Regions from separate parts of the Homo sapiens genome. Here all the other regions are linked to region 5. Evidence: promoter capture Hi-C in 16 types of primary human blood cells and fetal thymus (Javierre and others, 2016). All regions are on one chromosome and are shown on one strand. The core of a region is centred on a gene start or on the middle of the fragment in contact, and the rest is flanking DNA. Distances in the headings are between cores, read along the strand shown.

Region 1 (2,983 bases), core at 92-2,591, 560 kb after region 5:
TTGTTATTGCTGATTTTTTTGGAATTCCTTCATAGACAGTCATCTTATCCACTAGTGAAGACAGTTCTATTTATTCCTTTCCAGTCTGTTTACTCTTTATTTCCTTTTCTTAACATACTTCATAAGCTGGAATCTGCAGTCAGATGTTGAATAAGAGTTGTAAGAGGGGACATTCTTGTATTTTTCCTGATTTTTGGGAGAAGGCATCCAGTTTCTTGTCATTAAGTGTAATGTTAACTGTAGGCTTTTTGTGTATATTCTTTATCAAGTACAAGAAATTTCTCTTTATTCCTAGTTTGCTAAACTCAGTGATTGTTGATTTTTGTTAAATGCTTTTTCTGCATCTATTTATATGATCATAGGATTTTTCTTCTTTAGCCTGTTAATGTGATGGATTACATTAATTGATTTTTGGATGTTGAATCAGCTTTGCATACCAGGATTAAATCCCATTTGGTCATGGTATATAATTCTTTTTATATATTATTGGATTTTTTAGTCATTTTAATATCTAAAAACTTAATTTTAAAATGTTTGCTTTTTTCTTATTTATCTCATCATGTTTATTTTTTTCTCCAAATCATTTTACCTGTTTGTAATAGCTGTAACTTATAATAGTATTTGTAACAACTGTTTTAAGAGTCTTCATTTCTGGGTTTCTTTCTGTCAGCTATTTTCCTTCTGATATGAATCACATTTTGCATCTTTACCTATCTCTTAATTGTTGATTGGATTCTAGACATTGTAAATGTTACATTGTGTGTTTGGATTTTGTTACCTTTATTTAAAAGGTATAGATGTTTAGTCTGGCAGGTACATTAATTTTGTTTAGGTTAAGGCCTTTTAGGCTTTAAAAAAGTTTTCTTAGGGCAAGTCTAGCATAGTCCTTTCTCGTGTTCTGATTAAACAAGCTTGTATTATGCTGTCTCTCTACCCGTCACACTTCCTGTCCTTTGGTTCATAATTTCTATTTCATTATACGTCTATGGTTTTTTCGTAGTATAATGTAAACCCATGAAAGATGTAGGCAGGAGAGAGATATAATAGTATATATACCTTAAGAAAATTTCACTGACCACTATGTGGCTTGGATGGGGGCAACTGTAGTAGTGGGGAGTTCTGCTAGTAGGCCAGTACAAGAGTCCTGGACTGCTGGTAGTTTGTGTAAGTATTATGATTAAGTATTATGATAACTGAGATAAAGAAAAGTGAATAGATTTGATCTTTTTAAATAAAGAATTTATAAGAGTTTCATACTATCCAGCAGTTGTGCTCTTACACATAGATCCAGGAAGCTCATATACAAAGTTCCAGACAACAAGTACAAAAATATTCAAAGGACCATTGTTATATAAATAGAACAGGTTACAGTCTGAATGTTCATTCACAGTGGAATGGATAATGCTGCAGTATGTTTGTAGGTGACATAGATTACAGCAGTAAAAATAATGACTTACAGCTGCTCAGATTAACTAATAGATTTACTTAGTAACTCTTACTTTGCATGTTATTCTTTAGGCAGTTTCAGCCACTGCAGAAACAACAAAGAAGACAGGCAAAGATCTTTGTCTTTATGTTTTTTTAATCATTGTGCAGTGAACAATGTAGATATTGACTAAAGCAAGAATCATTAAAGTTCATTTTTAATAATGGGTGAAAATTGTTTGGATATAGGATCATCACAGTTTCAAAGTATCAATCTACAGATTATTTGCTAAGAAAAAATGGCATACTTTCTGTGAGGAAATTTAATGGATGCCATCTTAAGTAATCAAGCTTTATCAGTTTGGGATAAATTGACTTTTTATTTTACTTTTGATGCGATGGAAGAACTCGAGGATACAATATCAACTATGTTGTATTTAAGATTTGTTAAACATCTTGAATTTAATGAGTGAATAATCAGGTATATTCAAATTGTGGAATATTCTATCAAACAACCACCCTGGGTTCTTCAGAAATATCATGGTCATGAAGAACTCCCCCCGCCATCAGCACAAAACAACAAACACAAACCCACACTTTCCCTTCTGGGGAGGCTGAGGGGGTTCAAAAGGCAAGTGAACTACTTTACATTAGAGGAGCACAAAGAAACGAAACAAAGCAATGCGTACTATCTATGTAATTCTCATGAGCAACTTTCATCTGGGGATTTCCTTCCTTTCTGTCCTAGTTCTTTCTCGGAGTGGGGTGTCTTTTCTCTTCTGAGGTCCTATTACCCATATCAGGGCCTATTCTATCCATCTAGAGGACTGTTCAACTTCCTGAAATATCTTTTGTTTTCTTTTTACCTTGGACCTTTCCTTGAGGAAACAAAGGCCTTGTAGTTAATTATAGGTGTTTTGCAATTGGTTATTTAAAGAAGATCCCCATTCCCCATCACATCTCCTTGATTCATGAGAGATTTCTGATTAGTACCGCTGGATTAGGAATAAGACATTTTCTAAGAAATACTTTTCTTTTCCCTTCTTTTTATTTTTCCTTTCCCATTAGTATATTCTATGAAATTTTAATTCAAGAAATTGTAGGTGAGAAAACCACATAAGATTCTTTATTATACAGCGTACCACTGTTGCATCAATAGGGTGTCATTTTATCAGCTTTTAAGTTACCAGGTTGTGCTACCATGTGTGGCTTGGGTTTTGCTTGAAAAGTAAGGTTATTTATTGTGTCTTGAGTAGGTAAATGTGACATTATCAGTTGGTCAAAAAAGATAATTCTTTTTAACTTGGAATCCATAACTAAATGGAAAATCTCCTAAGCTCCTAGAATCTTCCTTCATTCATCCCCTTATCTTCCACATCCAAACTGTCGCTAACTCTAGTCTTTGTCTTTCTCTCTATCTCTGTTGCTAGCTGGACTGCTGCAAAGGCTTCCTCATCAGCTCCTTGTTTCTACCTTTGCCCTTTCACCATTCATTCATTGCACAGCAGCCAAAGTGATCTTTTAAAATGCTGTATTAGGTACTTCCCTTTCCTGTATC
Region 2 (2,834 bases), core at 54-2,553, 810 kb after region 5:
TTTATGTTGGGACAAGTAGTGTCTTATTAAGGCGGTTCCAGCCTTTCATATCCTGCCTCCTTGGGATAAAGAGTGTTTGTTTACAGAGCTTCTGGGATAGACTGCTGCATGCTGCATCCGTACCTCTGTTGCAGAAGCACATCTGTCCCATTATGTCTAGTGACAAAAATAAGACCTACGCCTCAGTGAACTTTGCATACATCTGAATGTAAGCAAGACAAGTATATTTGACATTTTAAAAAGGTTTTTTCTTTCACAGTTTTCAAAATAACATAGGAGAAGCAAAGGAAAAAATATTTCTTGTGTTTCTAATTCACAGGTTGCTTGAGACTTTTTTTGGAGGTGCTAGCATTTTATTGGCCACAGTTTTGAAGGAAAATACAATGAAATCATGCTTCTGTCGTTTGGGGAAAAGGAATAACAGATTCATTTTTTCTTTTTTTAAAGATGAGAGAGATAGTATTTGGAATCTATCTTTAGACTATTCTACCTCTGAATCTAATTGAAGTAAGAAATTGGGCAAGAATGGAATCTTACTTACCACCCAGGAAAAAAGCTAAACAATTGTGGCTCAGTCCATTTTCCCCTGAGACTGTCTTCAGATTGAGGCGATCAGTGTTAAAATGGATGGAATCACCAGGCTCTCCACATTCTAGTAAGATTGTAGTACGGTTGAAAGTCAAATGAAAGTCCAGCTCTTCAGTGTGTCATTTCCTCTTGCAGACACCAGACCAAGGGCAGTGGTGGTCTGGCGCTTATATTTTGTTATTATTTGTTGAGACCAGAACTCTCCTTAAGGATATATTTATATATGTTTTAATATTAAAGTTTCTTTTCAAGGAATTTATACTAATTAGTTCATGTAATAATAACATGTGCATTCCATTTAAAGTTACCTTGCTAAATTTTCTAAGACTTGTTAGCTTCCCCATAGTTTTTAATAAACCAAAAGATCAAACGAACAGTCCCCAGTTGCCCAAATATTGAGCAGTTAAGGCTGGTTTCAGCTCATCTGAAATCTGTAAACATTTAAAGAGAACCTCTCTCCCAGAAGATAGTGAGCACGGTGGTATTCTCCAGTCTCAGAATATTAAGGTTACTTACAGACTAGAGAGGCCTTCAGTCTATATTAACGAGTTCCTTTCCTAATCTCACCCTTCTAAGAATATATTTGATCCAATTTAGGGACAGCAACATTGAGGCCAGAGAAAAATTAATGGGGTAGTAACTGTAGACACCAAAACACTCCCCAAATCTTGAGACATCAAATAAGCAAGACTGAATTTATGCAAAAGATACTTTAAAGATGTTTCTTTAGCTGGGCGCAGTGGCTCACGCCTGTAATCCCAGCACTTTGGGAGGCCGAGGCGGGTAGATCACAAGGTCACGAGTTTGAGACCAGCCTGGCCAATATGGTGAAACCCCGTTTCTACTAAAAATACAAAAATTAGCCGGGTGTGGTGGTGGGTGCCTGTAGTCCCAGCTACTCGGGAGGCTGAGGCAGGACAATTGCTTGAACCTGGGAGGCGGAGGTTGCAGTGAGCCAAGATCGCCAAGATCATGCCACTGCATTCCAACCTGAGCAACAGAGTGAGACTCTTAAAAAAAAGAAAAAATGTGTCACTCAGAGATTTTTCTACCTAGAACAAGAGTCATACATACTTTTTGAAATTATTTTATCTATGTAAACTTACGAGGTACAAGTGTAAATTTGTGACATGCATAGATTGAATAGAGAGGAAGTCAAGGCTTTTAGATATTCATCACCTGACTAATGTACATGGTACCCATTAAGTAATTTCTCATCATCCACCCTCCTCCCACCCCGTCACCCTTCTGAGTCTCCATTGTCTACTATCAGAAAAGCCTTCTCCAGCAGCGCATTGTCAGCTGAGTCTAGGAGAAGAAAGCCTTCTCATGGACATGAGCTAAATTCCCTGGGAAAGGCCATTCCATAATGGAGAAGGCCTTCTGTTCACCCACAGTGTGGTCCTCAGACCAGCAGCTTCAGCGTCTCCTGGGAACTCACTAGAAATGCAGACCCCAGGCCCAGTGTGGCAGCTCACGCCTGTAATCCCAGCACTTTGGGAGGCCGAGGCGGGTGGCTCACGAGGTCAGGAGTTTGAGGCCAGCCTGGCCAACATAGTGAAACCCCGTCTCTACTAAAAATACAAAAAAATTAGCCGGGCATGGTGGCGCATACCTGTAATCCCAGCTACTTGGGAGGCTGAGGCAGGAAAATCACTTGAACCCGGGTGGCGGAGGTTGGGCTGAGCTGAGATCGTGCCGCTGCACTCCAGCCTGGGCAACAGAGGGACACTCCTTCTCAATAAATAAATAAATAAATAAATAAATAAAATGCACCCAAACCTGAATTGGAAACTCAGGTGGGGGGCCTAGCGGTCTGTGGTTTTACTAGCCCTCCAGGCAAGTTTTGATGCTTTGGTGATTGAGAACTGCTGCTTATGCTGTCTTGGTGGAGAGCACTTCAGCCAGTGCCTCTTCTGCTGATTCTGTATTTATCAAAGAACCACTGACTATAATTTAGTGCTCACACTACAGTTAGGAGGTGTGTGAGTTCCCTTTACAAACCTATTTCTGATTGTAAATTCCTAAGATGTTTTACACATCAGTATCTTGTGAGCTTGATAAAAGTGAATCCATCTCGTTCAGAGTGATGCATTATGAGTGTATAGTGGAAGTCTAGCTTCTAAGCCTGTGAAACAGAGGCCCAGCCCCCTGATCCAGGCAGATTTCACTAAGGTAGAGGCCAGGGTAGATGTCCCTGCTGAACGGGCACCCTCTCATCCCACCTCACCCTGGCTGTGTGTACT
Region 3 (3,055 bases), core at 26-2,525, 830 kb after region 5:
AAAATAAAAAATATTTATGTGGATCAGTATATTAAATATTATAGGAGAGTCTTCTCCAAGCTTGGCGTTTGATTTTTCAGGAGTGATCTGCTTGGGAGTAGAAGGTGTTTTCTTTGTTTTCAACATTTTTATAAGTGACCATTCTCAGCCTTACCAAGATGTAAACTATCTTTTTCTCTTTTAATAAAAATAAAAGTTTACAAAAAATCATCCTTTCACGGAGCGCTTTCAGGCAGCATGCTTTACGAAGGTAGAGGGTCCAGGCTAATTTCCAAAGGTATTGTGAATGACATCAGTTTCCACTAGTTCTCTTTGTAACTGCAGGCTTTGGCTCTGATTTTGAGCTAACTTAGAGGGCAGCAGGGAGTCATATTTTTCTTCATTTTAAGGAATTTTAAAAGAAACTGGACTTGTTTTATATCGGCCACAAGTCTGTACTCTTACCCTTAGCCCCTTGGGTGCTGCCCAGTTCTGGGGAGCCCCACTTGAGAGACAAGGGGAGCACCAGGCAGACGGCACGTGTGCCTGAAGTCCCGAGCCGGCAGCGGGGCTGGACGGGTGGCCCCTGGGTTCCCGCGCCCTCCAGAGTGAGGCCGCTCGTGCATGGGCCATTAAAGGAGTCTTCAGCCGGAGAAAGGGCTGGGCGGCGTCTCCTGCCCGCCTGGTCTGTCTTTGTAATTTGATGATGGTTCCATCCTTGCTCAAATACTGCAGTCTCCCGTGGCCTCCTCCCCGTCTCGCTTTACATGAAGATGTTGGGATGTGAATACACGTTTCTTCTTCAGGAAATATCAGGGGATATTTACCAGCCTATCTTACCGGCTCAGAGGAAGTTGCTATTAATATAATCAGATGCGAGCAGGCAGTGCCTTTTCACTCAATCTGAGATGCCTTTTTTTGTGACTGTTAACTGAACCTTTCTTCAGATCTAAGGGCCTTAAAATGTGTGGCATTCAGGCACCTGTGTTCCAAGCAGACCAGCCTTTAACAATGAAATGGTGGGATTTTCACTTTTGTGGCGTAGACACCAGGGCTGATATTGATCCGTGTTTTTCCGGTGGTCCGGCGTTGCAGAAGTGGAAACTGCAGCGGGCTGGTAAGCCCTCCGAGCCTTCTGTCTAATTTGGCAGAAAAACACAGAATGTAGGACAACAAAAGAAGCCTCCTTTTTCCATAAAAATTCTTCCTCCCACCCACCCTTCTTCCCCAAAAAGGGGACTTAATTTTTCAGCTGCACGCAGTGATTTGGTGCTCACTCTTGCATCGAAACAGTTGCGGTCTGAACAGGCAGGAAACAGTTTTCTTTTAATTGCCGAAATCATTCGGAAGTGCTTCATGCCCTGCTTCTGTACAGCAGATGCTGTGCATTAATTGGCCTGCGTAGAAGTGACCCAGGGTTCCTTGCAGCGGGCCCAATTTTAGGCAGAGGGTTTAAATAGCTTATTTATTATTTTGTATAATCTGGCGTACATTGTGTGCTCCTGCACGTGTCGTATTTCATGGTCTGCAGTTTCTAATGTCATGTGGGTTTCAAAACCTGTGTTTCTCTGGTAATGTACTAGCAGCAGGTAAGCTCAAAATACCATCCATCAGGAGCTAATTTTTTATCCAGATACTCCAATGACTGATGAACCTGTCTTTTGTATGAATGTTTAGCACAGTGGAAAGCCATATGCCACTGGCACCGTTTCCTCTGCATTCCTTACAGTTGCTAGAGAGTGGGCTTCCTGGGGGGCGGGGCGGCTCGATGCTGTGAACGTCCCCTGGCCTCTATTTCAACGATAACACCTTTAAAACAGCCCTGGGTTTGGGCAACAAAAAGAGGATGGGCTGTCTTAAAGGAGACCTGACTCCCTCGTCATTTTCTTTATCAGAAATACGACTGCACACTCTTAATAGGGAACCTTGTTTTGTTACTCCCCGTCTGTTCCAAACAGACCTCAGCCCATTAGAAGGGCCTCCCTTGTGTGGGAGACCACAGCTGTTACTGTAAATCTCATCCACTCACTGTATCACCCCCATTTTGTGGCTCTGAAGGATGAAATTGAGAAATGGAATACTGTGCAGTCATCCTTTACATCTCCAATTTTAGGCCTTTGCCATCATTTTCATGCTTTTATTCCAAATCAAATAACATTAGTGAGCTACACCACCTTCTGATGAATATCTGGTCTTGAGCACCGCTTTCAAGCCTGTGCTTGTGGGGGCTTCCTTTTATGTTTGGTGGTCTTTTTTCCCCCGTTCTCTTCTTTTTCTTCCTGCACTTTCTTTGAGCGTTCTTCGTGGTCATGGCAGTCTGCAGTTTGAATGATCGGCATTGCCAAATGTGTCCCTGTCTTAGCATGTTTTCTGAGAGGGGGCATGTGCGGGAGAAGGTTCTCTGTCTTTTAATCTTTGTGGAAGGAGTGAAGAGAACTTGGTAGAAGGATATTGGGGGCTTTAATCAGAAATAAGAAGTGGTTTAAATCATTAGCACAACAAAGCATACTATAAGCTTGAAGATAAAAGTCTCTGGGGAAAGAGTCCTCTGAAAATAAATGGAACTTGATAGATTTCCATATCATTTATAACTTCCCTTAATTACACTTGGAAGACTTGCCAGTAAAACTGGAAAATTGGCAGCCTATATCCATTAGAGTCATTTTGCCGACCATGGCAAGCAGCTGGCTTTACGGGATTTGATTCCCATCACTCACAATTCATCATCAGCTGGAGGTGTCTGCAGCTCTTCAGCACAGAGCAATGCTGGGTGACACTCGGGCCCCCACGACATGCGAAAATCTGCTGAGTAAATGGGCCGAGGTTTCTCTCAAGCCTTGTTTGGGGCAAGGCCGACTCCTGCTTAATGAGTGCCGCTCTGATAATCGGATGCGAACGTGAACCTTGACCTCGTGTCAAAGGAGAGGACGCAATAAGCTGGATGAAAGATACAGGATTCAGGCCTTCAAACTTTACACCAATTAGACAGGGAGCGGGGAGATACATCAGGCCCACTAGGTTCATCAAAAAGACTTGTGAGGCTTGTGACCATTTTGTAAGCCCAACATTGGAGACA
Region 4 (3,011 bases), core at 227-2,726, 770 kb after region 5:
GTTACCTGCCTACCCAAGCTGCATTGGTCCCCACTTTCTCTGGAGGGGAAAAGAGAAACGGATAGAAAGTATCTGGCATAGAAACCAGAGCCTTTCTAGTCTGTTTACCCTCAACTCCACAGGGCTTCCTCCCTGCTCGGTCACACTCTTTGTATTCCTGACCCTTTTCTAGTCCAACAATAGGAAGCAGGTGGCGGTCACAGAGCAGACACTTTGTGGAGGGGTGATGAAGTTTTCTGATGTTCAGATATATTTTACAGTGCTAAGAAAATCTATAGCATTCCTTCCTGCATTTGCCCCTAAATATACAAAATTTCAGGCAAAATATGGGTAGAATAAGATTTTATGAAATGGAATATAAATGTAGTCTTAATCTTGAACATTGTTTCTGTGGTAATGTGTGTTCTGTGTGCCATGTAACCAAGCTAAGAATGAACTTTTGGAATATAACTACGTTTTTATTCTTTTGAAATTGGCATGCTCTATATAATATAAAAGTTTGGTTATTAGTATTGCAGTGTGATGCATTCTGAACAAAAATTTAAAAGAAATCATTGCCTGCCTGCTATACTATGTGCTAGGAAGTGGGTTAGTTGAACATGACTTGGTCCCTACCCTTAAGTAGCACACTGGCTGGTGAAGACAGACAAACTGATACCATGCAAACATGGTATCAGTGCTGAGATGGGTAATGCATAGGCTTATATAGTAGCAGAGCGAATTGTAGATCTGTTAGCTTTATTATTTGTTTCTTTTATTGATAAACAGTACAGTCCATAGGGCGTAGGTCTCTGGTTAAGAATTTGCATTTTATTTGTCAAGTACACCTCAATAAACACAGGGAAAAGAAGAACTGTATTTCATATCTTATTAGACATTACTTTTTGAAAATGAGCACAAAACCTAGCATTTAATGGTAGTCATGAGAGTCAGTCAGTCATCTTACACTGGTGACAGACACTGAATTCTGGCAATTCAAAGGAAACAAATATCCCTGCAGTCATTGGGCCCATTGTCACCTAAGGATAGAGAAATGTAAATGACTGATTACCGTGATAAGAACGCTAACAGAGGTGTATACGAAGTAGAGGGATTCTGGGGCTGAGGTGAAGAAAGTGGAGAAATTGTGAACAGTTTTTCAGTGTTTATAGCTCATGCTGTGACTTTAAGGATGAATTGAGTTTGCAGGAGAAGGCATTTCAGATAGAGGGAACAGTGAGCCTGGAGATAGCAGGTTGTAGAAACTGCACTCTGTACTGATGATGGAGAAAGAGGACGGAATGAAATTAATAAAGGCGCAGAGGTATTAAGATGTCCCAAGTGTTTAAGGAAGAGCAGATTGGCTTATGAGGGTGATGGGCAGGGCAACAAAGATCCCTTTGGAAGATGAAATTAGTCTGTTGGGGGCAAGATGACACAAGACCATTCCAAGGAGGTTGGGTGGCATTCCCTAGATTCTGAGGTTCATTGAAGGAGTTGAAAGAAGAATCATAATCTCATCAGAGGTGGTTGGTTTTATTGGTGTGGTTTTTTTTTTTTTTTTTTTTTTTGACAACTTATGGGAGTAGGCAAAGAAAGAAGAGGGTACATTTGAGAGCCACTTCTTTAGAATCCAGTGTACAATTCTATGTATTGGGCAGAATTGAAGATAATTCTGAGATTTCTAGAGGTGATAACTGATGCAGTTAGGGAGGAAAAACAGGAAGAAGAGAAGAATTGTACCAGAGAAAAGGTGGACTCTATTAAAAAGATGGATTTAACCAATTTAAGTTTGAAATGCCAAGAGACATCTATGATATAAGGGAAATTTCTGGTCTGGAGAGCAAGAAGAAGATTAAGAGTGAGCACGTAAGTTGATGCCCCAGCAGAGGTGAGGTCCTAAGCCATGCAGTAGATGAACCTGCCAAAGGGACAATGGCAAAGCAGAGGCCAGGCCCAGAATGGAGCTCCAGGAAATGCCCACAGCTAAGGTGGAGGCTTGTCCTCTCTAATGGAGTCACTTACAAAATGATGACATGTTTATTATTGAAATCATTTATATATACTATTAGAAGCCAGTTCATTGTAACCTCAGTTATGATTTCACAGTATCCTAGGGTATCACTAAGTTATTTCAAAGTATCTCAGGATCTGTTGCCACCTGCCAAAGATCTTCAAAGTAAAATTAATATTTATAAATAATGCCTTACGCGTGTATGGTGCTTTAGGGCTTTAGAATGATTCTACATATGTCAGCTTACTTGATTCCATTCAATTGCTAAGATGAATAAGCCATAGCACACCTTAGAGTGAGTGGTAAAAATTAGACATGGAATACTTCTTGCAGTGTTTTCCATTTAAAATATTTGAGATTACAAGTTATGTGTTCACAGGAAATTACCACGAACCACTGCCAGATTGCTAGTGAACAGGATCGGGCAGGGGTGGGGGAGGAATAAGTAGAGTTTGTCTTCCTGCATTTGAATCGCAGATCACCTGTCTCTTAGCTTTGTGAATTTGAACAGGTTGCCTAACCTCCCTGGTCCTCAATTTTTTCATCAACAGAATAGATATTATCTGCTTTTATGGAGATGGCAAGGGCTGAAAAAGAAAACGTTTGTAAAATGCCTGAAAATAGCAGGCACTTGGCAAAGAATAGCTCGGTTTTTATTGTAGCTCCCCACTCTCCCTTTGCTTCATTTTCCCTTTCATTTGTCTTGCTTGGAGACATGCTATCATCTGAAGTGATAGTCTCCACCGAGTCTTCAATTTGGTGCTTGGCCTACAGAAAAATCCAGAGGGAAAATATTGTTCCCTTTTATTTGAAAAACCAAATTTGTGTTAATCCCCTGGTTATGACCCCTTAACATAGTTAATGTTTTGTAAGTGAATATGGAATAGAAAGCACATACTTAAATGTGTACCTTGTGGTGGCAGGGTGCTTAAAAACATCTGTTTCCTTGAAGAATCTTGCGAATCACCAACACCAAACTTGACCAGGGAAGAATTTGGTGCCTTGTGTTTAAACTGTG
Region 5 (2,700 bases), core at 94-2,593:
TGCAAGTAAGACTTAGGACTGTGTTTACCAGTTACTGTTATTTACTATTACTTTCTAAATGTGACCTGACTTGAAACCTTTATAGATGCAATTTTTATCCATCACAGAACAAGCTCTAAAGAGGAGAGCAGCTTCAACTTTTTCAAGTATTTTTTTTAAAAGGATTTAACTTTGACCAACACCAAACTTGCATCTTGTTAAGGTAACTAATAACTGACTGCTATAACAATATTTAGAATTTTGTTTAACAGCAACTGTCAAAAAAACAAGTTAAAATAGCCCAGGAGATGGATGGCGATTAACTCTGCGTTCTTTTTAGACTGTGTTATTAATTAGCTCTCTAGACTCAAATAGGTTACATCCTCTGAGCAGTAAATTGCATGCCATTTGCAAGCTCTGTGGATGAAATTTACATGTGGCCTAAATGCTATCCACATTGTTTTGTTAAGTAGCATTTTATCTCTCTGGACTGGTCCCTTGCCTCCTCCCCCAGCCCCAGTGGAAAGTTTTATTCACTTTTCTTGCGGGAAGGGAAAGTCGCATGTAGTTTGGTCATTTGGCGCCATCTTCTTTTTTATTGTTAAATCCACTAAAGGCAGTCATGCCTGGCAGTACCAGGCGGGCTCCTTCCGGGGTTCTGGTCGGCTAAGCATTCAGAGTTCTTTGCTTTTTATTTACTAGAAATGTTTTCAGCTTCTGTCTTTGCTTTAAGATCTGATTAAAAGGAACCTTAAAAAAGGAACATAGATTTTGGTGTATGTTTTTCCTCTCTACTTCTCTTCCCTGTGCCCCCCAAACCCAATCACCAACTTCCCCCATCCCCAGCAAACACGGGCTTTTTTGTGTATTTATTTAAAAGCATTTTAGGAAGCACCGTAATACCGCACAGCTTGGAGGTTAAGATAGAATTGGATGTTTCCCTCACCATCAGTTGATGGAATCATCAGTGTTCCGGTTCTATTTATCTTCATGATTTGAGAATGTTTCTGAACAGCTGCCCTTCCGAGGATGCTGGTATTTAGACAGACCTTCCTGTCATTTATCTGACTCACAGGCACAACTCTTTTGAAAGAATTAATATCAAACTTACATATGAAAATCTACCATTTAGAAATGGATTCTTTTTCAGTACCTACTTTTCAATTCAACCGGGGAGATCCCATCTATTTTAAAAAATCATTAATCACATACTTCTGACATTTTCCCTTTCAGTTTCCTCAGGGGGAAAAAAGTTATTTGAATAACAAACAAACAAACAAAAACCCCTCATCGCAAATAGCTGTCAGCCTCCTATGTGAACAAAAGCGCTCTCTCACACTGAGACCTACCGTGTTTTGTTTAGTTAGAGGCAGCAGGGTGGTAGGGACACTATGCAGAAAGGCTTGGGTTAATGAGCACTTTCTGGATTGAGTGTCTCTCCTGATTAACCCTTGGATTACTTGCTTTGAGTTGCTAACCCTCTCTCACTGCCCACTCAAGAATTTCCCACATGGTAGCCTCATCCATAGATGCCCTTCCCTAGATGCACTGATGGTAGACAGCATAAAAATGTGTAAGCACTGTAGCTTTCCAATGAACTGAAACAAAAAGCTTAAGCATTACTTTTTATTTCCTTGATCTAAAGAACATGTTTTGGGGGATATTTTCTTAATCAATATCTAAGTTATCTAGAGTTATAAATACTATAAATAAATTAGTTACAAACTAATTTTTAGACACAAGTCTTTTGTTCAAACCAACTCTTACATAGAAACTCTAAAAATTTGGGGGGGAAGGGGACAGTTGGGGATCAGAATCACTCCCCATTATCTCTCTGTTGGTGCTCCCCAAAGGATCTTCAGGGAACGACGTTTAAAAACCATTTTGTATCATGAAATGGGACCCGAAAGACATTCTTTCTAGTGACTTTGTGTTAGATTGAGTCATATGAAATTGCCACTGTGTGACCCATTTTGACCTAAAAAAAAAACCAAAAAACAAAAAACAAAAAACCAGCACTAGGGTACCAGAGTATTTTTAGTGTAATCACTGTACGTGATAAGAAAATGGAGAAATGAGAAAGCTTGAAACTTAGACTATAAGCTCCTCATAAGCTAATAGCGACTTCCTCCCTTCTTCCGCAGTCACCTGGCAAGTCCCTTCTATGTGCTGCTGGTTCTAGGGATACAGAGATAAAAGGCGTAGTCACTGCCTCCAAATCATCACAGTGCAAAGGACAAATAAATACAGAAGGACCCATGGGATGAAGAAACAGCCCAGGGTGGTGGGAACACAGAGCGAGAGTTTCTAGGATCTTGAAAGCCATGTTGCACGGAGCTCCCGGTCCCTGAGTTTTCAGACTGATCTTTCTGTGGACTGTGCCTAAGTAATAACAGTTTCAGAACGTAGAAACTCAGTGTACATCCTTCATAGCCAGGATGGATATGATAGCCTGGAAGTGAACAGTAAATCCAGTGATTTGTTTTCTTCACTCATTCTTTCATTTTAAGAAAGTGCTTAGAATCCACAAGTTGTGCTTAATGCCAGCAGACGCATTACATATGCCAGCCCTGCCCCTTAGTCACAATTACTCCCCACACTGACCTCCCATTGCATTTAAAAATTGTCGCTTTATTGAGACATAGTTCAGCTCTCATAAAGTTCACATTTGTTTTTTTTGTTTTTTTTTTTTTGTTTGTTTTTTTGAGACAGTCTTGCTCA
Region 6 (2,700 bases), core at 112-2,611, 850 kb after region 5:
ATAGTTTCATATTTCACCACTGAAGCAGAACTTGAAAGTGATTACGAGTCCTTTGCATAACTGTTAGATTTTTTTCTTGATTTCTTTTTTCTTAGCCACCTGGTGGCAAGAGTGTAAAAGGCAGGATTTAAGAGTTTATGATGATAGTTTACAAATCACAACCACTTCATATGCCTGGTACACGTTTAAAAGCATGCATACGCAGACCAGGTGAACCGAACAAGGAAAGGGCTAGTGTTTAACTCTTCTTAAACTAATTTACAAAAGGATTTTAAAAAGACACCAGCTTTTTTTTTTTTTTTTTTTTTTTTTTTTGAGACGGAGTGTCGCTCTGTCACCCAGGCTGGAGTGCAGTGGCGCGATCTCGGCTCACTGCAACCTCCGCCTCCCAGGTTCAAGCAGTTCTCCTGCCTCAGCCTCCTGAGTAGCTGGGACTATAGGTGCCCACCACCACGCCTGGCTAATTTTTGTATTTTTAGTAGAGATGGGGTTTCACCATATTGGCCAGGCTGGTCTCAAACTCTTGACCTTGTGATCCGCCCACCTCGGCCTCCCAAAGTGCTAGATTGCAGGCATGAGCCAGCACGCCTGGCCAACACCAGCTTCTAACATAAAAACCACCTTTATAAATGGTGCCTCAAGAAAATATTCATCTTTATATGAAAATTTCATGACAGGAGGAAATGTTAGTAAAATCTGTATGTCATCATGTCAAAGCATCTGTTTTCTCCACATGATATATCAAGCCAGTAACAATGCATACTGCCAGTTGGCAAGTTAAGACTTTGTTAGAAAAAAGTAAAATGATTTAGACTTGGGTAGCATGAAGCTCAGGCCCCTGCCAGAGGGGCTCTGCCACTGGCCAGGGAGAAATAGTATCAGAATCATAAACTCCTGGTCCAGAAGGTGGCATGGCAAAGAGCTTATCTCTATCTTTACATTTGCTGCATTAATTTGCTTTTGTCATTCAATACCTCGTGTCAAAATTGGCCCCAGCAGATCCTGGGCCCACCAGACTCACGAAGGGCATGGTGATCACGGCTGTACACTGGTTTCAAGGACACCAACTGCTGCTCTAGTCCTTCTGTGACCACCAGCAGCCCCACACTGTGCCAGCCCTGAGCAAACGCAGCCATTCTACATGGTGGAGATGGAGTAAGAGTCACATGCGATGTTGTGCACGTTTCCCCTAGAGAGGGTTTTTCTTACTTTATGGAAACCTTCTTGTGTCTCATCAAGTAGCCACTTCCCCTCCCTCCCCCACTGTAACATTATTTTCCCTGGAGAAAACGCCGAGTGTCTGATATAGTTACACATTAATTCTTCAGAAGTTTCTTAGAACTGTAGGAAACAGGTGAAAAAACAAAATGCCTTGAACTTTCAACCTGTGCCTGGCCTGTGTGCGCGAGGCGGGCCCTAAGGTCACTCTTCCCCGCGCGGCTCGGGGCAACGTGCCAGGGAGGGCTCGGGCCGCATCCTGTTGGCTCTTTGATGCTTTCGTTTTGTCGCTTGCTAGTTTCTTTACAGCAAAGGCAAGGGCTTCCTGCTAAGGCAGACCCCTCACCAGCCCCACTGCATACCCCGGAAAAGTCCCTGGCAAAACACCTTTCTTCCATTATCTGCACCGGCCCCGGTAAAACGCTGGCGCCTTTGAAATCAGAGGCCAGGGTCTCCTCTTCACAGTTCGCTCAAGACACTGAACACTTACGGGTCTGTGAAATCAAACGGACACTTGGTCCCTGATGCCACCCCAGGCCTCCTGAATGCTCCTCAGCAACCATCCCTTGAGTTTTTACTCTTTGGCCATGCCAAATATAAATAACGATTTTTTTCATGCCATATCACTTTAAAGGCAATTGTGTTGCCACCTTTAAAATGTTCAGTGACCAACAACGCAGACATGACCATCCCCTGCATCCCCATGTCTGCTTCAAGTATGGAAAGGAATCACTGGAAAATCCCAAGATGCCAGGCCAGGGAACGAGCTCTATGCAAACAGGCAGGATGGAGAACCGGCCAGGGCCATGGCCCCAAATTCCAGGCACGGCAGCAGGAGCGGAGGTGCTGCCAGCCCCTGCTGCCTCCTGGTGTGACACTCAGAAGGCGCAGCGGAGGCGGCAGCAGGAGGCAGAGCCAGGAACACATGCTGGGCAGGCGGCCAGCGGCCCAACACTGGAGATGCCGTCAACCTCGTCACACAGGGCCAACCTGCAGGCACGGCCTCAGGAACCTGGCTCCACTTGCCGGACCTACCTGTGGCTCACGGGGGATCAACGCCACCCCCAAGGGAGAGCCCTGACTCCATGCCCACCCCATGCCAAGTGCTTTACTTACATTCTTCACCTGGTGCTCCAAACCACATGGTGAGGCCGCTTCACTCCCAGCTTCTCCCCCCTTTTGCAGATGGGGAAGCTGGGGCAGAGGTGAAGTGACTCACACACAAGGCGACCCAGGCAAGGGCAGCAGAGCCTTCACGTCCCTTCCTGACCTCCTTCCTGACCTCCACGTCCCAGGGCCCCTGGAGGAGGGCACCCCCTCACTGCCCCCAAGCACTCCAGGGCCCCAGGCAGCCAGTGGCCTGGGCTGCCCTCATACCAGGCTCCAGTCACATCTGCCGTGGCCTCCTGAATCTAGAAGGTGCCCTCAGGGTTTATTAAGCACACCCTGGGCTGCCTGCCTGCCTGGCATGTGCCATGGAAC
Region 7 (2,954 bases), core at 56-2,555, 870 kb after region 5:
TTTTCTGCAGCGTGTTGCTGCTCCATAAACATTAAGCCTTTTCTTCTTTGCCACACAGGCCCGTCTGTTCCTCTCTCCTATTTGAGTGAATATGGCTAGAAGTCTCTTCATATTCTCCCTTCTTAGCCCTTTACCCAGGAGCTTAACTCAAGTCTACTTCCAGGGCCAACAGGGAATGGACAGGGAGTGAGCATCCGTGGGAGCTGTGTGGCCCTCCCAGGCCCTGAGGGCTGCGCTGGGAACGTGCCCTGTGGGCTTGTATCCATTGCTTTCACTGGGGCCACTCCTGGCTGAGGAGGGTTGCAGCTTTGCAGCTCTGCTGTCACTGAGCTCCACGCGATCCCTTTAGCCTCCCCAGGTTTTATTCTGGACATTTCCATTCCCTCACATAATCTAGCTTTGTTTTTCTGACTCTTGGCCAAGGTTTTTGGTGTCAGTGTGTTCCTAGGACATGGTGTCCTAAAGTACAACGGAGTGATTTTCTAAAGAACCAGGACACATGCTCTAGCAAGACGGATGTGTGGGGCAAAATATGGGTCAGAATCTTTGCAATTGTGAACATCTCTGACAGCCCAGGCTGCGCACCCCGCATCTCCTCCAGGGCCTGGGATAGTGGGCTGGTGGGCTGTCATTTCATCACAAGCACGCCTCCTAGACCACTCATCCACACAGCCCAGGAACACGTGCCTCTTCCCCCGGCTCCTGACTACATTCATGGTGAAGCTTGTGGCTACGCCCTCCTAAGTCTCATCAAGCAGCAATACCCCCGCCCCGGGCATTTTAACCTCTCCATTTCAGTATTTCCAGCTCCATTGCTATTATTTTACCAATGATTATCTACAAGCTTTCCTTGAACGTTGTGTTATATTTCATTTTGGTTATCATTTTCTGGTATAAGCAACACTTCCATATTAGGAACAGCCCCAGAGAGCTGCTTACATCTGACTTGGTAATGGTGGTGAACTGTATGGTATGTGAATTATTTCTCAATAAAGCATTAAAATAATGCAATTCTGTATAGATCCATAGCAAACAAAAATAACACTGAAATGGTTTCTATCATAAAGTTAATAGTTGATGGATGAAGATGGTAAGCCCTGCCTCCTGCCTCTTCACCCCGATTTTGAGCTATCTTAATGCAGTGTCTTCCCACAGAAGGCTTTCCTGGACATGTGGCCTTGTCTTACCTGGGGCTATTAACACCAGGATGAGATTCTGAAATGTGCAGTGCTGGCTAAACACCCAGCAAGTGGTACTGGTTCCCTTCTCAGATCAAGAGAATGCTATCTTCAGAAGATGTGTGCAGCAGACATTCCTGTACTTAGAAGAACCCAGCAGTGGGAGGGCCCGGGATGCCCTTCACACCTCCAACCCAGGACCCTGGAGGGGCAGAGGTGCTGCTCAGTGGGGGGCTGGGGCTCACGACCTTGGCAAATGACTGAACCTCTCATCCTGGATCTCCTTCTCTGTCCAGTGAGACCCTGGCACTTCCCAGAGTGGGGGAGTGGGATCCCCTGGGAGTATACAAGTGCCCAGCATGGGTGGGTTCAAGCAATGACAGTTGTTTTGAATGAAATAAAACAAATAGGAAATCATTAACTCTGCTCAAAGGTCATGCGGCAGAGTCTGCATGCCCCGGAGGAGGCTGTGCCCAACAGTGGGTTCGAAAGGACCAGATTCCAGGCAGCTCCTGGGTGACTCACTTTGCCTCACTGGGGTTTAGGTGCCTCTAAATAGGGACAGAAACTCTTACCTTGCCTACCTCGCAAGCTTCAACCTAAAGCTCAAATTACTGGAAGTACACAGAAGTTGTGAAATTTTATTCTTCTATAAAACGGCAAGCCCCTGTCCACTGCCTGTGTGGACCCCGACAGAAACTACCCTAGATATTCTCTACAACTAAGCTCGGTGAAGGGCTAAGACTTGATTTCCATTTTCATAAATACACCTTAGTTTTGCACAGAAAAAAAAATTTTTCCTTGCACAAACACCATTTTCTTCAAACCTGGCACCAGCAAGGATCATGCCTGGCACCTCACGCAGTACCTGTGATTCACCAAATATACTTCACCCACCTTCACAGCACTCAGAGGACACTGGGACAGACAGCACAGGCAACTCACCCAAAGTCACACCACTGGTAAGAGAGGCACATGAGGCCAGGTGTGGTGGCTCACGCCTGTAATTCCAACACTTTGGGAGGCCAAGGCAGGCAGATCACCTGAGGTCACGAGTTTGAGACCAGCCCAGCCAACATAGTAAAACCCCGTCTCTACTAAAAATACAAAAATTAGCCAGGCATGGTGGTGCATGCCGGTAATCCCAGCTACTTGGGAGGCTGAGGCACGAGAATCACTTGAACCCAGGAGGCGGAGGTTGCAGTGAGCTGAGATCACGCGACTGCACTCCAGCCTGGGCAACACAGCGAGACAATGTCTCAAAAAAAAAAAAAGAAAAAAAAGAAAAGAAAAAAGAAAAGGCACAGCCTTAAACTTGGGTGGTTTCTTGACTCCAGAGTTCAAACTCCTAACAACCCCAAAAAAAGAGCTCCCGTTCCCCTGCCTGGGCCCCCACTGCCATGTGCTAAAAAAGAAAGCAAGTCAAAGCGTTACTTGCCTTGAATTGCAAGCAGACTCCACACAATCTTACTTATATAAATCAAGCCAAGCAGAGGCTTCCAGAGAAACCAACCCTGCCGGCCCCTGATCTTGGACTTCTGAACCACTAGAACTGTGAGAAAGTTCTGTTGTTGAAGCCACCCGGTCTGTGGCACTTGGTTGTAGCAACCCTAGTGAATGAATGCACTGATGGATGCTGCCCCACGATCAATCTGCAAATATTATCCTCACTCAGAGGGGCCAGACACATGGGGCACATGTGACATGCATCCACTGATCCAGAACACCCAGCACGGGTAAAGCCACAGTGACAGGTAGGGGGATGGGGGCTGCCAG

The links. The method cuts DNA at HindIII sites, captures the fragments that hold promoters and counts their contacts. A CHiCAGO score of 5 or more calls a contact.
Region 1: a fragment that was not itself captured here is called in contact with the fragment with the promoter of CLYBL-AS2 in region 5 in 6 of 17 cell types (total CD4 T cells, total CD8 T cells, activated CD4 T cells and 3 more); the score reaches 6.0 in total CD4 T cells.
Region 2: a contact is called between a fragment that was not itself captured here and the fragment with the promoter of CLYBL-AS2 in region 5, in 5 of 17 cell types (non-activated CD4 T cells, activated CD4 T cells, total CD4 T cells and 2 more). The highest score is 7.3, in non-activated CD4 T cells.
Region 3: a contact is called between a fragment that was not itself captured here and the fragment with the promoter of CLYBL-AS2 in region 5, in 6 of 17 cell types (non-activated CD4 T cells, total CD8 T cells, activated CD4 T cells and 3 more). The highest score is 6.7, in non-activated CD4 T cells.
Region 4: a contact is called between a fragment that was not itself captured here and the fragment with the promoter of CLYBL-AS2 in region 5, in 1 of 17 cell types (total CD4 T cells). The highest score is 6.1, in total CD4 T cells.
Region 6: a contact is called between a fragment that was not itself captured here and the fragment with the promoter of CLYBL-AS2 in region 5, in 7 of 17 cell types (total CD8 T cells, naive CD8 T cells, megakaryocytes and 4 more). The highest score is 7.6, in total CD8 T cells.
Region 7: a fragment that was not itself captured here is called in contact with the fragment with the promoter of CLYBL-AS2 in region 5 in 7 of 17 cell types (non-activated CD4 T cells, M1 macrophages, M0 macrophages and 4 more); the score reaches 6.2 in non-activated CD4 T cells.

Annotation. Positions count from the first base shown.
Region 1 is chr13:100,249,959-100,252,941 of GRCh38, forward strand. All of the region lies in intron 8 of PCCA (propionyl-CoA carboxylase subunit alpha), which reads left to right. Among named protein-coding and RNA genes, the nearest start is that of PCCA, 160 kb to the left of the region's middle. The HindIII fragment of the contact is 865 bases long and covers 910-1,774 here.
Region 2 is chr13:100,499,546-100,502,379 of GRCh38, forward strand. All of the region lies in intron 21 of PCCA (propionyl-CoA carboxylase subunit alpha), which reads left to right. Among named protein-coding and RNA genes, the nearest start is that of PCCA-AS1, 20 kb to the left of the region's middle. The HindIII fragment of the contact is 3,536 bases long and covers 1-2,834 here.
Region 3 is chr13:100,520,787-100,523,841 of GRCh38, forward strand. All of the region lies in intron 22 of PCCA (propionyl-CoA carboxylase subunit alpha), which reads left to right. Among named protein-coding and RNA genes, the nearest start is that of PCCA-AS1, 41 kb to the left of the region's middle. The HindIII fragment of the contact is 2,434 bases long and covers 59-2,492 here.
Region 4 is chr13:100,461,810-100,464,820 of GRCh38, forward strand. The region is part of intron 21 of PCCA (propionyl-CoA carboxylase subunit alpha); the gene reads left to right. PCCA-AS1 (PCCA antisense RNA 1) reads right to left here. Exons shown (of 5, transcript NR_047686.1): 5 at 2,628-2,761. Among named protein-coding and RNA genes, the nearest start is that of PCCA-AS1, 18 kb to the right of the region's middle. The HindIII fragment of the contact is 4,063 bases long and covers 1-3,011 here.
Region 5 is chr13:99,689,628-99,692,327 of GRCh38, forward strand. CLYBL-AS2 (CLYBL antisense RNA 2) reads right to left here and starts at 1,344. Exons shown (of 2, transcript NR_046526.1): 1 at 926-1,344; 2 at 471-729. All of the region lies in intron 1 of CLYBL (citramalyl-CoA lyase), which reads left to right. LOC124903199 (a long non-coding RNA gene) reads left to right here. Exons shown (of 2, transcript XR_007063848.1): 2 at 1-742. RefSeq lists a silencer at 1,188-1,482 and an enhancer at 2,523-2,700. The HindIII fragment of the contact is 1,922 bases long and covers 1-1,588 here.
Region 6 is chr13:100,542,911-100,545,610 of GRCh38, forward strand. The region is part of intron 2 of GGACT (gamma-glutamylamine cyclotransferase); the gene reads right to left. Among named protein-coding and RNA genes, the nearest start is that of GGACT, 45 kb to the right of the region's middle. RefSeq lists enhancers at 1-155, 1,586-2,309, 2,310-2,700. The HindIII fragment of the contact is 3,006 bases long and covers 1-2,700 here.
Region 7 is chr13:100,560,357-100,563,310 of GRCh38, forward strand. All of the region lies in intron 2 of GGACT (gamma-glutamylamine cyclotransferase), which reads right to left. Among named protein-coding and RNA genes, the nearest start is that of GGACT, 27 kb to the right of the region's middle. The HindIII fragment of the contact is 926 bases long and covers 843-1,768 here.